Linked DNA regions of Homo sapiens: region 1 is linked to region 2. Evidence: promoter capture Hi-C in 16 types of primary human blood cells and fetal thymus (Javierre and others, 2016). All regions are on one chromosome and are shown on one strand. The core of a region is centred on a gene start or on the middle of the fragment in contact, and the rest is flanking DNA. Distances in the headings are between cores, read along the strand shown.

Region 1 (5,936 bases), core at 1,340-3,839, 820 kb after region 2:
ACCACAGCCATGTTTTACTGCCAATAATCTTCATCCCAATTGTGGTTTCTTTGTACATATGTAAACATGTAATTTTTAGACAGCTATGGATGCATTTATATATTAAAATGTTCATGTAGTAAACTAATATTCAGAATACAAAGATTACACTAAACAAAAAGGACTTCGTTAAATCTATTTCTATAAATCATGTCAATGAAATGAAAGCCTTAATATCTAATCTTGCCAGGCACGGTGGCTCATGCCTGTAATCCCAGCACTTTGGGAGGCCGAGGCGGGTGGATCACAAGGTCAGGAATTCAAAACCAGACTGGCCAACACGGTGAAACCCCGTCTCTACTAAAAATACAAAAATAAGCCAGGCATGGTGATGCGCGCCTGTAATTTCAGCTACTCAGGAGACTGAGGCAGAAGAATCACCTGAACCTGGGAGGCAGAGGCTGCAGTGAGCCAAGATCACCCCACTGCACTCCAGCCTTGGCGACAGAGCAAGACTCTGTCTCAGAGAGGAAAAAAAAAAAAATCTAATCTTTTATGCTTCAGAACATAAAATTGTGGTTTCAATTTGTGTTAATCTTCCCTATCTAATCCAACAGAATCCACAACAATTAGTCTAAAATTATTTTTTAAAAATCAGCTAAGGTAAGAAGAAACAAATAGAAAAACTAAATGCTACAATTACCTTAAAATTAAATAACAGTGTCTGTTTATGAGACATAGATAATTTTACTATAGTTTTTAGTTGTTAAGGAATAATTCTAGTGCACAGCAAGGTCACTGACACTATTACATAATCCTTCAATAAATTGGAAATAAAGTCCTAAGCGCTTCTTGAAATAGCAGTGAAGCTTTTGTAACTGAATGACTTATTTTCATTCTTCATTTTATTTGACCTCTGTAGCATCTAAAAAAATGTTTACCATTGACTTCCTGAAATTATCGTTGGTGCTTTTTCCTGACTTCTATGTCTTTGCTCTCTTCATTGGTGCTTCTTCCTTTTATTACCTATACACTGATGACTCCTTTCTGAATTCCTTTATGTCTAACTTTAGAAAATCTGGAAACTAAAGATTAAAAAGGAAAATTGCTCTTCATAAGCCTACCCTCAAAGTTAACCACTGTTCAATATTCCATACTAGTGTATTTCCTTCAACTTCAGATTGCTATCTAATGAACACAATAGATTTCCATAACATATTTTAATATCAGTAAGTTACTACTCTAACTTCCCTATTCCTATGAACAATGAAGGTTTCTAGTTTGCACAACTGGATTTGATAAAGCCATTCTCTCCACATTTATCTTCAGATTCAATTGGTCCCCAAGTCCTCACTTCTAAATCATCAGAACACCTAGCACCTACCTTTTTCTCTACCTACACCTTAGCTTTTATCTTCCTTATACTTGATCCACTGCTTTTGACAGGTCTTCCCATCCTCAGCCTTTCCCTCAAAAGTGTCACCATTTGTCTTTTAAAGGTACACTTCTGAATATTACTTTAAAATGTGAAGCAATAAAGCTATCTTACTTTTGGGGGAAAAACCCTTAAGCCCTTGCTTATAGACATCTGATGGCTCTCCTACGGAATAAAGACAAATGCATTGGGCCAAGCCTCCAGCAAACTTCCCTTTCATAACTCTCCCGCAAAATTATATTCTCTACTCTGTTCATAATGAACAACTTAATATATACCATGTGCTTTCACGTAGCCCTGAATCTGCTAATTCTGTTACCTCTATACCTCTACCAATGTCTCTTCTACCTCTTAACAAGGTACTACTCACCTTCAAATATCCCTTTTCTGTAGGCTTTCTTTACCCTCCTCCTTACCTCCAAGGGAACAGCTTCAGTTATATTCTTAATATTTTATTAGTATCTTTTAGCCTATATTGTGATATTGTGTAACAAATTGTTCTAAATCATTAAGTCCATTAGTATCTTATTCATTCGTTATATTTCAGCACTAGCAATGCCTAACAATACAGTAGGCATGTCAACCATTTACAAATGTGCACTGTATACCGTTCACAAATATGCACTGCAAATGTAGGCATGGATATAAAGTAAGGTTCTTTCCTCAAGAAGCTAACATTGAAGACAGTAGAGAGAAAGAAACAGACGTCAGTAGCAAATATCACCAAAGTTTCACAGACCCTCATAGAAAGACTGCAATGCACATTCTTATTTGAAATCCTAACTTCTAAATAGTACAGACGGAGCTTCTCTAAGAGACCAGCAAGTCGAGAGATCAGCATGTATTAATATAATCTGGTATGAAAAATGTTTGACCATAAATACTGTCCTTATCTAACAAGAGATAGTGTTGATATTTCATACTAGTTGAGAATAGAAAAACTGTCTTCTGAATACCTTTAGAAAAGAACAAATAAAGATTTTATATTTGACCAAATAATCAGGAAATCTAGAATTATGGAACTGATTCTTAATAGGAAATTACAAACCTACCTCGCAGTGATACTCAAATATTGCACTTTCAGTAGTATTTGCTGATTCTTCTTTTTCAGCACACGTTTCAAAGGATGAAAGTTGCTAGTATTAAAAAAAAGAGCGAGAGAAAATGATCTACCAAGCTAATAAAGAATACAACTGCTGCTGTACCGGGCAATCTCACAGTACAGCACTGAAGAAAACAAAGACTACTAGCAGCGTTGGGAAGTGCTCTTTCAAAGCTGTTGAGTAGGCACAAACTTCTTGTTTCAGATCAAGTGTTGTGTCTTCAACTTAAGTGTACTCTTCTTTGGTCTTGTTAGTTGTTACGAGGTTTGTTCCTTGCCTGATCTGAACTTGAAGCAGCAGTTTCAGGTGGTAAAGTCTGTTCTGTTACACTTCATACTAAAGGTAAAAAATGAAGACATTAAGTATAACATACATAAAATAATCAGGGACAGTGGGTGAGAAGAGGGACAAACTCATTTCATTAACTTAGAATCATGGGTCATGCAAGTAATGCAGGAAACTTGGAAGCATGCTCATCTGATGTTATTTGGAGCAATCTCTCAAGTACTAGCAACTACCTCCTTTGGTATCTCATACCCAAGACCTCAAATTATTCCATAGTCTTTATTGACCTCTTCCCCCAAATAAGCTCAGTTACATGGCATAATGTTTAATTTAGTGCAAGTATTTTATAAGGATCTAGCTCTGTGGAAAACATAAAAGAAGTCCCTGCCATGAGAGCATAGACAATCTTGCTGAAAAGACAAGATGTAAACATGGAAAAAAAAAACAGAGTATAGGACAAAAATGCCAAAAATTATTTTGCTCAATTAGTATCTAGGTATCTATTATGTCACAGACTATCTAGAAATATTATTTATTGTTTATCCACAACTGCATGTCCATCAAAGCAACCAAGGCTTTTAAATAAGTGGAATTTGAAGTGAACCTGGAAAATCAGGCAGAATTCTAGGAGAAAGAAAATAGCTGAGTATTCTAGGCATGAAACAGCACATAAGTCAAGCGAGAATATGCCACTAAATTCTTTCTTCAGAGCAGCGACCATGCATTCTATGATTTTCTAAGCCCAGCATCAAGTGAAGTCTTCTGCATGAATGCCTGTGGCAACATGTGTGGCTTGTTGTTTCAGAGGAAAATCAACAGGCTAGCCTGGCTAGAACAGAGAGCTGGGCTGAAGTGAAATAGGATATGTAGTGTGACAGGTGTAGCGGAGCCCGATTATGAAGCATTTCAACGTGATGTAACAGGAAACAGTGCCTTAGTTTTTGATGAAAGTGGTATTAAGTCTTGAAATCCTAAAGGAGATGACTTAGTAAGCAAACAGAAATCTCATTTGCACTGCTGCAGTAAATAGATGAGAAATGTCTATAGAAGAGAAATAAAATTTATTTATCAGTAAAAATCACATTTCTGCTTTATATTAGCTATAAAATAAACAACAATTTTGCACTGACTCCAAAGTTACAAAATGGTGTTAACGAAAATTATTTCTACAGAGATAAGAAAAAGGTGTACGTGCTGAGAAATGGATATTTGAAAACATCAGAAGAATGATTATCAGGTGAGAGGTCAGAGCTGATTAAATAGCTCAGACCAGAAGAGCCTAATCGCAATCACTGGTACTAGTAAATACCATGAACAAGTTATTTAATCTCTCTAAGTTTCACTTTCCTCACATGTAAAATAAAAACTCAATAACAGCTGATCTGGCCATTTTCTATTCTCTAACATCCCATGTTCCTTCAAATATCAAATGTTACATACACTTGTCTGATCTTTCAACTTTATTTAGATCATTCTCCTATTACCCAGACTAGATATATGTCTCAGGGTAATGGTGCTCAAATACTTGGGAAGCTTTAAAAAAAAAAAAACAAAAACAAACCTATGCCCAGCCTCCACTCAGAGTAATACAACTGGTTTGAGGTAGGGCCACTTCTTTAACTATCTTGATTCTTCCCCTCTCCATCACCATACCCAATGTTGCAAGTTGTGTTAGTATTTCCCTCGCTATATCTTTTGTATTCATCTCTTATCCTACTAAGTGACATATTTTAGCTCAGGTGTCTAATATATCCGCCAACTTCCAGTGTGCACACTTTCCATTTTCTGTCACATACCACCACCAGACTATCAAAAACTTGAATTTTGGCCAGGTGAGTTGGCTCACGCCTGTAATCCCAGCACTTTGGGAGGCCTTGGCAGGAGGTCTGCTTGAGCCCAGGAGCTCCAGACCAGCCTGGGCAACGTGGAGAAACCCCATCTCTACTAAAAATACAAAAAATTAGCCAGGCATGGTGGTATACGCCTGGAGCCTCAGCTACTTAGGACTGGGAAGTCAAGGCTGCAGAGAACAAGATAGTGACACAGCACTACAGCCTGGGAGACAGATCAGAACCTTGTCTCAAAAAACAAAACAAAACAAAAACTCTCCAATTTCATTTCTCATCTCCCCTGTCAAACATCTTCAGTTATTTTTCCACCATTCTAGATGGGAAGTTTTTAATCCTGGCTATCCACCCACCCCCAGCAACCTTAAACAAACAAACAAACAAAAACCAACAAAATCAAAGCCTGAGTCCCGTACAAAGATTCTAAATTTAACTACACTAGGTTAGGTGCCAGGCCTTGTTATCTCCCCCCAACCCCTGCTCCAAGTGTTTCTGACTTCCAGCCAGGATTAAGAACTACTATTCCAGGTGTCTCTATTCTACCTTCCATCCTTACTCTCTACTGTGTTCCAGTTCTACCAGAAGTCCATTACCTCGCCTAATCCTTAAACACAACTCTTGGGAGATTCCTGAATTCTAGCCACCTTTGCTTATATGGGTCTTCCCACAAAAAAATACTATGTTGTGATCTTCAAGGTGACAAAAAAGCCTTTCTTGACCATTCCAGCAGACTCATTCATTAATTCCTACTAATGAATGGGGCAGTAACATCCACTGCCTGCACCAAGCAATTTGCAGCAAGTGATACCAAGCAATTTCTGTACTTTGTTTACTTCATGTTTTTATGTATCTTGTTCCTCCAATTCTATTTCAAATTTCTGAGAGGTAAACTCAAATTTCTTTATCACAGCCTCCTTTCGCACCTAATCCAGTGCTGCCATATACAACCAAAGGAAAAAGGTAGTTAATCCTTAATAAGCAAAAGGACGCCACAATTCAAGTGTAAACAGTTATGCCACAATTCAAGTGTAAACAGTTATACCACCTTTAATTATATAGTTTTAATTATCCAATCAAGAAATAATCTCTTCTTTAAAAAATACAGACTGTGTATATTGGTTTTATCTTAATGCTTTAGGTGTATTAATGAACCCAAAGAACTCAACATGGAGAAAACAAGTTATCTTGAAACACTTGAACTGGATTAACCCATTCCAGGTTGTCGTATCACATTAAGAACTGTCAAGTCCAAGATTCAGTAACACAAAAAAAGAGATTTCTGGAACT
Region 2 (5,858 bases), core at 3,113-5,612:
AGGCAACGGACAGTGTCTGCCAAATTTCCCTATGCAAGCTTTCTCTGCTAAGGATACTCAAAAGGAGTCTTAAGAGAAAAATCTTGGTAATACCTAAGGCTTGCAACCTGAGGAAAGGGATGAGCAGGGAGGCTGAAGGGCTGATATTCACATACAAGCATTCAGTAATAAATCACTGTGGGCCTAATGCTCAGATCTTTTTTTTTTGGTCGGGGGGACAGAGTCTTGCTCTGTTGCCCAGGCTGGAGTGCAGTGGCATGATCTTGGCTCACTGAAACCTCCGCCTCCCGGGTTCAAGCAATTCTCTGCCTCAGCCTCCCAAGTAGCTGGGATTACAGGCACCTGCCACCGCGCCTGGCTAATTTTTGTATTTTTAGTAGAGATGGGGTTTCACCATCTTGGCCAGGCTGGTCTTGAGCTCCTGACCTTGCAATCTACCCACCTTGGCCTCCCAAAGTGCTGGGATTACAGGCGTGAGCCACCACGCCCAGCCATGAAGAACATTTTATTACCCCTTACCAGAAAAAGTCCTGTATTCTTCAAAAATATTAAAGACAAAGAAAAGCTGAGGAACTGTGCCAGATTAAAGAACACTAAAGAGACATGACAATTAAATGTAATATATGATCCTAAACTGGATCTTGTGCTGGAAAATAAAAAAAATGCTAAGAATGATGTTATTTGATCAACTGACAACATTTGGAACATGGATGGTAAAGTATTACAGCAATGTTAAATTTCCTGGAGTTGTTAATTGTATGTATTTTGTTTACATAAGAGAATGTACTTATTAGGATATTCAAGTATTATGTGGTAAAGGAGGATGATGCATGCGATTTACTTTTAACTGCTTGGAAAAAAAAATATGTACGTGGGCTGGGCACGGTGGCTCACACCTATAATCTTAGCACTTTGGGAGGCTGAGGTGGGTGGATTGCCTGAGTTCAGGAGTTCAAGACCAGCCTGGGTAACACGGTGAAACCCCGTCTCTACTAAAATACAAAAAAATTAGTCAGGTGTGACAGCGGGCACCTGTAATCCCAGCTACTCGGGAGGCTGAGACAGGAGAATCGCTTAAACCCAGGAGGTGGAGGTTGCAGTGAGCCGAGATCATGCCACTGCACTCCAGCCTAGGTGACAGAGTGAGACTCTGTCTAAAAAAAAAAAAAAAAAAAAAAAAAAAAAAGGCATGTATGTGTGTAATATAACTCTATCTATCTATAACTGCAAATGATAAAGCAAAAGGGGCAAGATGTTAATAATCTGGGTCCTCTTTTTGTCACTCTTGCAACATATCTGTATGTTTAACATTATTTCCAAATAAAAAGTATTCTGGGGTCTGGATTTTTAAAAAATCATTGAGGTTCTCCTCCTGTTGGCTCAAGGGACTTTTCTGCTTTTTATCGTTTACTGCAGACCTTCACTCTAATCTGGTTTTCCCAGTTTCACAACCTGTTGGCTTCTATTTAAATTCTCTTTTTTTTCCTAGCCCCTAGGATTCACTATTTGTTTGAATAGTTTGCCTAGCTTTTTGGTTCAGCTTCTCTCAAGACACAGCCTTCTCATCAGCTTCTCCTATTTGGCCTTAAGCACTGCCGCTCTTGGGCAAATGACTTCTTGCCTGCAACACTGAATCTAGGCTGTAGGCCCTAGAAGGATGTCATACCCTGAATGAAACTTGAATGCTTCCGATTGCTAACTGCTCCACCTCCCTCTCCAGTTGCTCTGACTTGGTTTAGGAGGATGTATTTCACATATCTGCCCCTTCTCGCCTTCTTTCCTGTGTAATCAAACCCTCATCATAGTTTTCTGATTAGGATCCCTTTCTCCAGTCTTTACCCACTCCAGCTAGCCCTCTTCCTTCACCATCACTAGTTCTCTCTCACATTACCTGTCTGAATAAACTTCTTTTTTGAGACAGAGTCTGGCTCTGTTTGCCCAGCCTAGACTGCAGTGGCACGATCTCGGCTCACTGCAACCTCTGCCTCCCGGATTCAAGCGATTCTCCTGCCTCAGCCTCCCGAGTAGCTGGGATTACAAGCATATGCCACCATATCTGGCTAATTTTTGTATTTGTAGTAGAGATGGGGTTTCACTGTGTTGGCCAGGCTGGTCTTGAACTCCTGACCTCCAGTGATCTGCCACCTTGGCTTCCCAAAGTGCTGGGATTACAGGCATGAGCCACTGTGCCTGGCTACCTGTGCGAATAAACTTCTAACAGCTCTACATTGCCTTTCAAAATCTGACTCAATTTACCTTACTACTTCCAAATCGTGCAACTTCTCTGCTTAACTGTAAGCTCCTTCAGGGCACAGACCATGCCTTTTCTTCTGTGTATCCTTAATTTCTTTTTTTTTTATTTCTTTCTTTCTTTCTTTTTTTTTTTTTTGAGACAGAGTCTCACTGTCGCCCAGGCTGGAGTGCAATGGTGCAATCTCGGCTCATGGTAGCCTTCTTCTCCTGGGTTCCAGCGGTTCTTCTGCTTAAGCCTCCAGGGTAGCTGGGATTACAGGCATGCGCCACTACACTTGGCTAATGTTTGTATTTTTAGTAGAGACGGGGTTTCACCATGTTGGCCAGGCTGGTCTCGAACTCCTGACCTCAGGTGATTCACCTGCCTCAGCCTCCCGAAGTGCTGGGATTACAGGCATGAGCCACCACACCCAGCCCCTTAATTTCTTATATAGTGCCTAGCACACAGAAGATGCTCTATAAATAGTTACTGAATGGACAAATGACTAAACTTTGAAACTTCTTTGACCTTACTATGCTCAAATATCACTTCTGATGTTCTTCTCCGACTCTCTCACTTATCTTATATATGTCTGCACACGTTTTTTCCTCATTAGACTGTAAGGTCCCTGAGGGAAAAGACCATGCTTTATTCACCTGTCTCATTCATACCTGACCCAGTGTCTAGAAGAGTGTATAGCACAGAGCAGGCACACAAGCAGTTTGCTGGATGAATGAGTGAATGATACTAAAGAGGAGAAAATACAGACTTTAAGAAGCTCTCCGTATAGTGAGAAAGACTGAGGACCTAAGAGCAATGAAAATAGAAGTTAACAAGTATAAATAAAGAAGGTACAGGTTAATTTAAGTAATCAGATGATGATGCAGAATTCAAATAAAATAGGAGTCAATCAGCAAAGGTTCCCGAAAGGGTGAATTCTGAGAGATATTTGAAAAGAGGAAAGGGACATAACTTGAGAGAGCAGGAGTTTAGGAACATGTCAGAGAGTTAGGTTGAACCAAGGCATGATAAACATGTTTGAAGCTTACATTCTGAGCAGGATCTGTTCTACCCAGACCACAGGTTTCTGCCTTTTTTTCTGGCTCATCAAGCAGGCATGTTTACCCACTCTTTTTATCTTCATGTTTCCCAGGTCAGCCCAATGTGAGGACTTTAAGTAGTAGAAGGAAGTTTCTGTGAAAATATGCAAACAAAACTGCCTTGTGGGATCGAACATTTTTGGTAACCCTAGTTCTCTAGGGAAATAAACTTCCCTGTTCCAGATAAAATGGAACTGCTCCCCGTGTTGTTAAGCCAGAGAGAAAGCCAAATGACTTCCCTTAAAAGGTACTTCAGCGCATTTTACACAAATCATAGTTTTCTGTGTGTGTTATGGGGATCCAAGGAAATCAAAGATGTTAATGAGTGAGATTTGAGAAACAAAACTTGATAGTAGAATTTTGTCTTAGCCACAACTGCCCTTCTCCTCACAGAGTATATGCAAATACCGATGGTGACGGACAGTCACTTTCTAGAGCTCAGATCACTGCTGCCTCCAGCACTTGTGGGATGGAAAAAATGAAGAAATTACAGTTGCCCTAAAAATGTCCCCCACTTCAGGAACCTGAATATTTTACACAGCAGGAGATACATCGGAAGTCCTACAGAATCTCTTGACTTTGGGAGATGCAACTGCTTTTCTATTAGGATAACCTAATTTTCTGTGTCCATTTTCTCAGAATGTTGTGCCCAACGCGTTCTGTTTCCTAAATACCCAGCCTTCCTTCTGGTAGAGGCAAGAAAATTATGCTAGCATTCGCTCACTGCATGTTTTGAGCGTTTGAGTTCAGAGTACAGCTATTCTCTCTCCTCGTAATGTAAACACAGGTTCCCACGGCGGCAATGGGAGACTCCCCTAAGGGGCTCTTGACGTACAGGGAGACTTCCAGATATGGTACACAGATGTCACATTGCTAGAACGTCTCTAGACGGCAACGAAACATTAAAGCCTAACCTGAGGTAATCCCTCACCGGCAGTGAAGCTCCTCTGCTAGGCACTGTCGTCCCGTACACTGCCCAAGCTCTGGGGGTGTCACACTAAACTGTGGTGATGTCACACTAGCTGGGATGACATTTTACAGTTGGATCCCGTACCACCGCCAGGCACCTTTAAATCACCGCAGAGTCTGCAGTGCGGAGGGGGCGGGAAGTCCAGGCCCCGCACTCGATCCACGCTGGCTCCCTACGGAGGCCCACCTACTCGAGGCCCACCGACTCCTACTGCAATCAGTACTATGCGATCGTCCTAGAGAGTCCATTCAGCTGCACTTCCGCCTCAGTAGGTGTCATGGCGCGGGGCGGGTGAATAGTTCCGGCGAGGCGGGGCCGGCCGGGTTGAGGGACGGCCGCTCGGCATTCCGTTCGTCGGGTCTGGCGACAACGGCGGCTGCGGAGCAAGGGGCCCGGCGGTAGCCCCGGACGGCAGCAGGAGGCCGAGGCGGGAGCGCGCGGGGCTGAGGCGGCGGCGGCGGCGGCGGGAAGGGGCTGGGTGGTGGAGCGGGAGGGAGGCTGAGGAGGCTCCCCCTGCGGGACGGGCGCGGGGACGGCTCCGGGGGGCGGGGGCCGGGGCCCGGGCCGGCTCGCGCGGGGGGTATGATGACCCGGCTGCGGGGCCCCAGATCTCGTCTCCTCCGCCGCCTCCTCACGGCAGCCCCAGCTCGCGGCTGAGAACCAGACACACCGGCGGTGAGTGGGGACGGGCAGGAGGGGTCCTCGGCGGGGAGCGACTTCCCCTCAGCTCCCTGAGGCGGGGCCGGGCCGGCCGCCGGCTCTCCTGGAGCGCCCAGCCTGCCGGGGGCGCCTTCCTCAAAGGGCCCCTGCCTGGGACCGGGCGCCGCGTCTTGCGGCCCGGCCGCTCACTGCCGCTGAGGGGATTGCCTTCCCAGGAAGGTGGGGAGGCTCCGGGCTGGTTTTCGGGGCAACTCCCCCTGCCTCCTGCCACTTCTCGCCTGGGCGTGTTGTCCTTAAGTGACAGGGGACCGCCTTGCGTCTCCTCACTCGGCCGGTTTTTTCCCCGGCTGTCGTGGCAGGTTCCCAGTGTGTGGCTTGTGCGTGTGTACTTCACAGCTCCGCTTATCACCATGGTTTTGGGTTATTTGTGCTGTTTGGGACCAGGAAGCCGTGCCTGGAGAGGACGACAGTGGGGTGGGTGTGGAAGCTTTTCTGTCGTCTCCGCTGATGTTCTGTAGTCGTTAGGCTTGTAATTCGTAATGACGGTGGAGACTACGTGAGACCAGCCCACCTAATGTATATCTGTACAAGGGAGATCTAGAGGTCTGGCCCAAAGGGAAACTTTTGCTGCCACCACTTTCAAAGCTTTCGTTAAAAAAACAAAAGGGAGGGGGAAGGTGGAGAAACAACCAAAATTCTGGTAAGGCCCACACTGTTCACAGGTCTGTGGGGAAGAGTCCCCTTTTTGTGCTTAGCAACCAAGACGTGGAGTTCCGTCTCCAGGAGCGTTGGTCTAACCTCCAGTTTGTTGTGGTGACGAGCTGTGAGCAATGGCCTGTGTTTATGCTGGGCGAGCTTTCTTTCCTACTTGGGGAGGGGGGTTCAGGATGGGAGG

What was found. The method cuts DNA at HindIII sites, captures the fragments that hold promoters and counts their contacts. A CHiCAGO score of 5 or more calls a contact.
Region 1: a contact is called between a fragment that was not itself captured here and the fragment with the promoter of HIPK1 in region 2, in 1 of 17 cell types (monocytes). The highest score is 5.8, in monocytes.

The regions. Positions count from the first base shown.
Region 1 is chr1:114,747,355-114,753,290 of GRCh38, forward strand. It overlaps CSDE1 (cold shock domain containing E1), which reads right to left. Exons shown (of 20, transcript NM_001007553.3): 2 at 2,467-2,853. Among named protein-coding and RNA genes, the nearest start is that of CSDE1, 7.7 kb to the right of the region's middle. The HindIII fragment of the contact is 3,487 bases long and covers 847-4,333 here.
Region 2 is chr1:113,924,962-113,930,819 of GRCh38, forward strand. It overlaps HIPK1 (homeodomain interacting protein kinase 1), which reads left to right and starts at 4,363. Exons shown (of 16, transcript NM_198268.3): 1 at 4,363-4,571. HIPK1-AS1 (HIPK1 antisense RNA 1) reads right to left here and starts at 4,564. Exons shown (of 3, transcript NR_110726.1): 1 at 4,401-4,564; 2 at 3,283-3,427. RefSeq lists an enhancer at 4,274-4,593 and silencers at 4,714-4,763, 4,784-5,093. The HindIII fragment of the contact is 2,173 bases long and covers 3,276-5,448 here.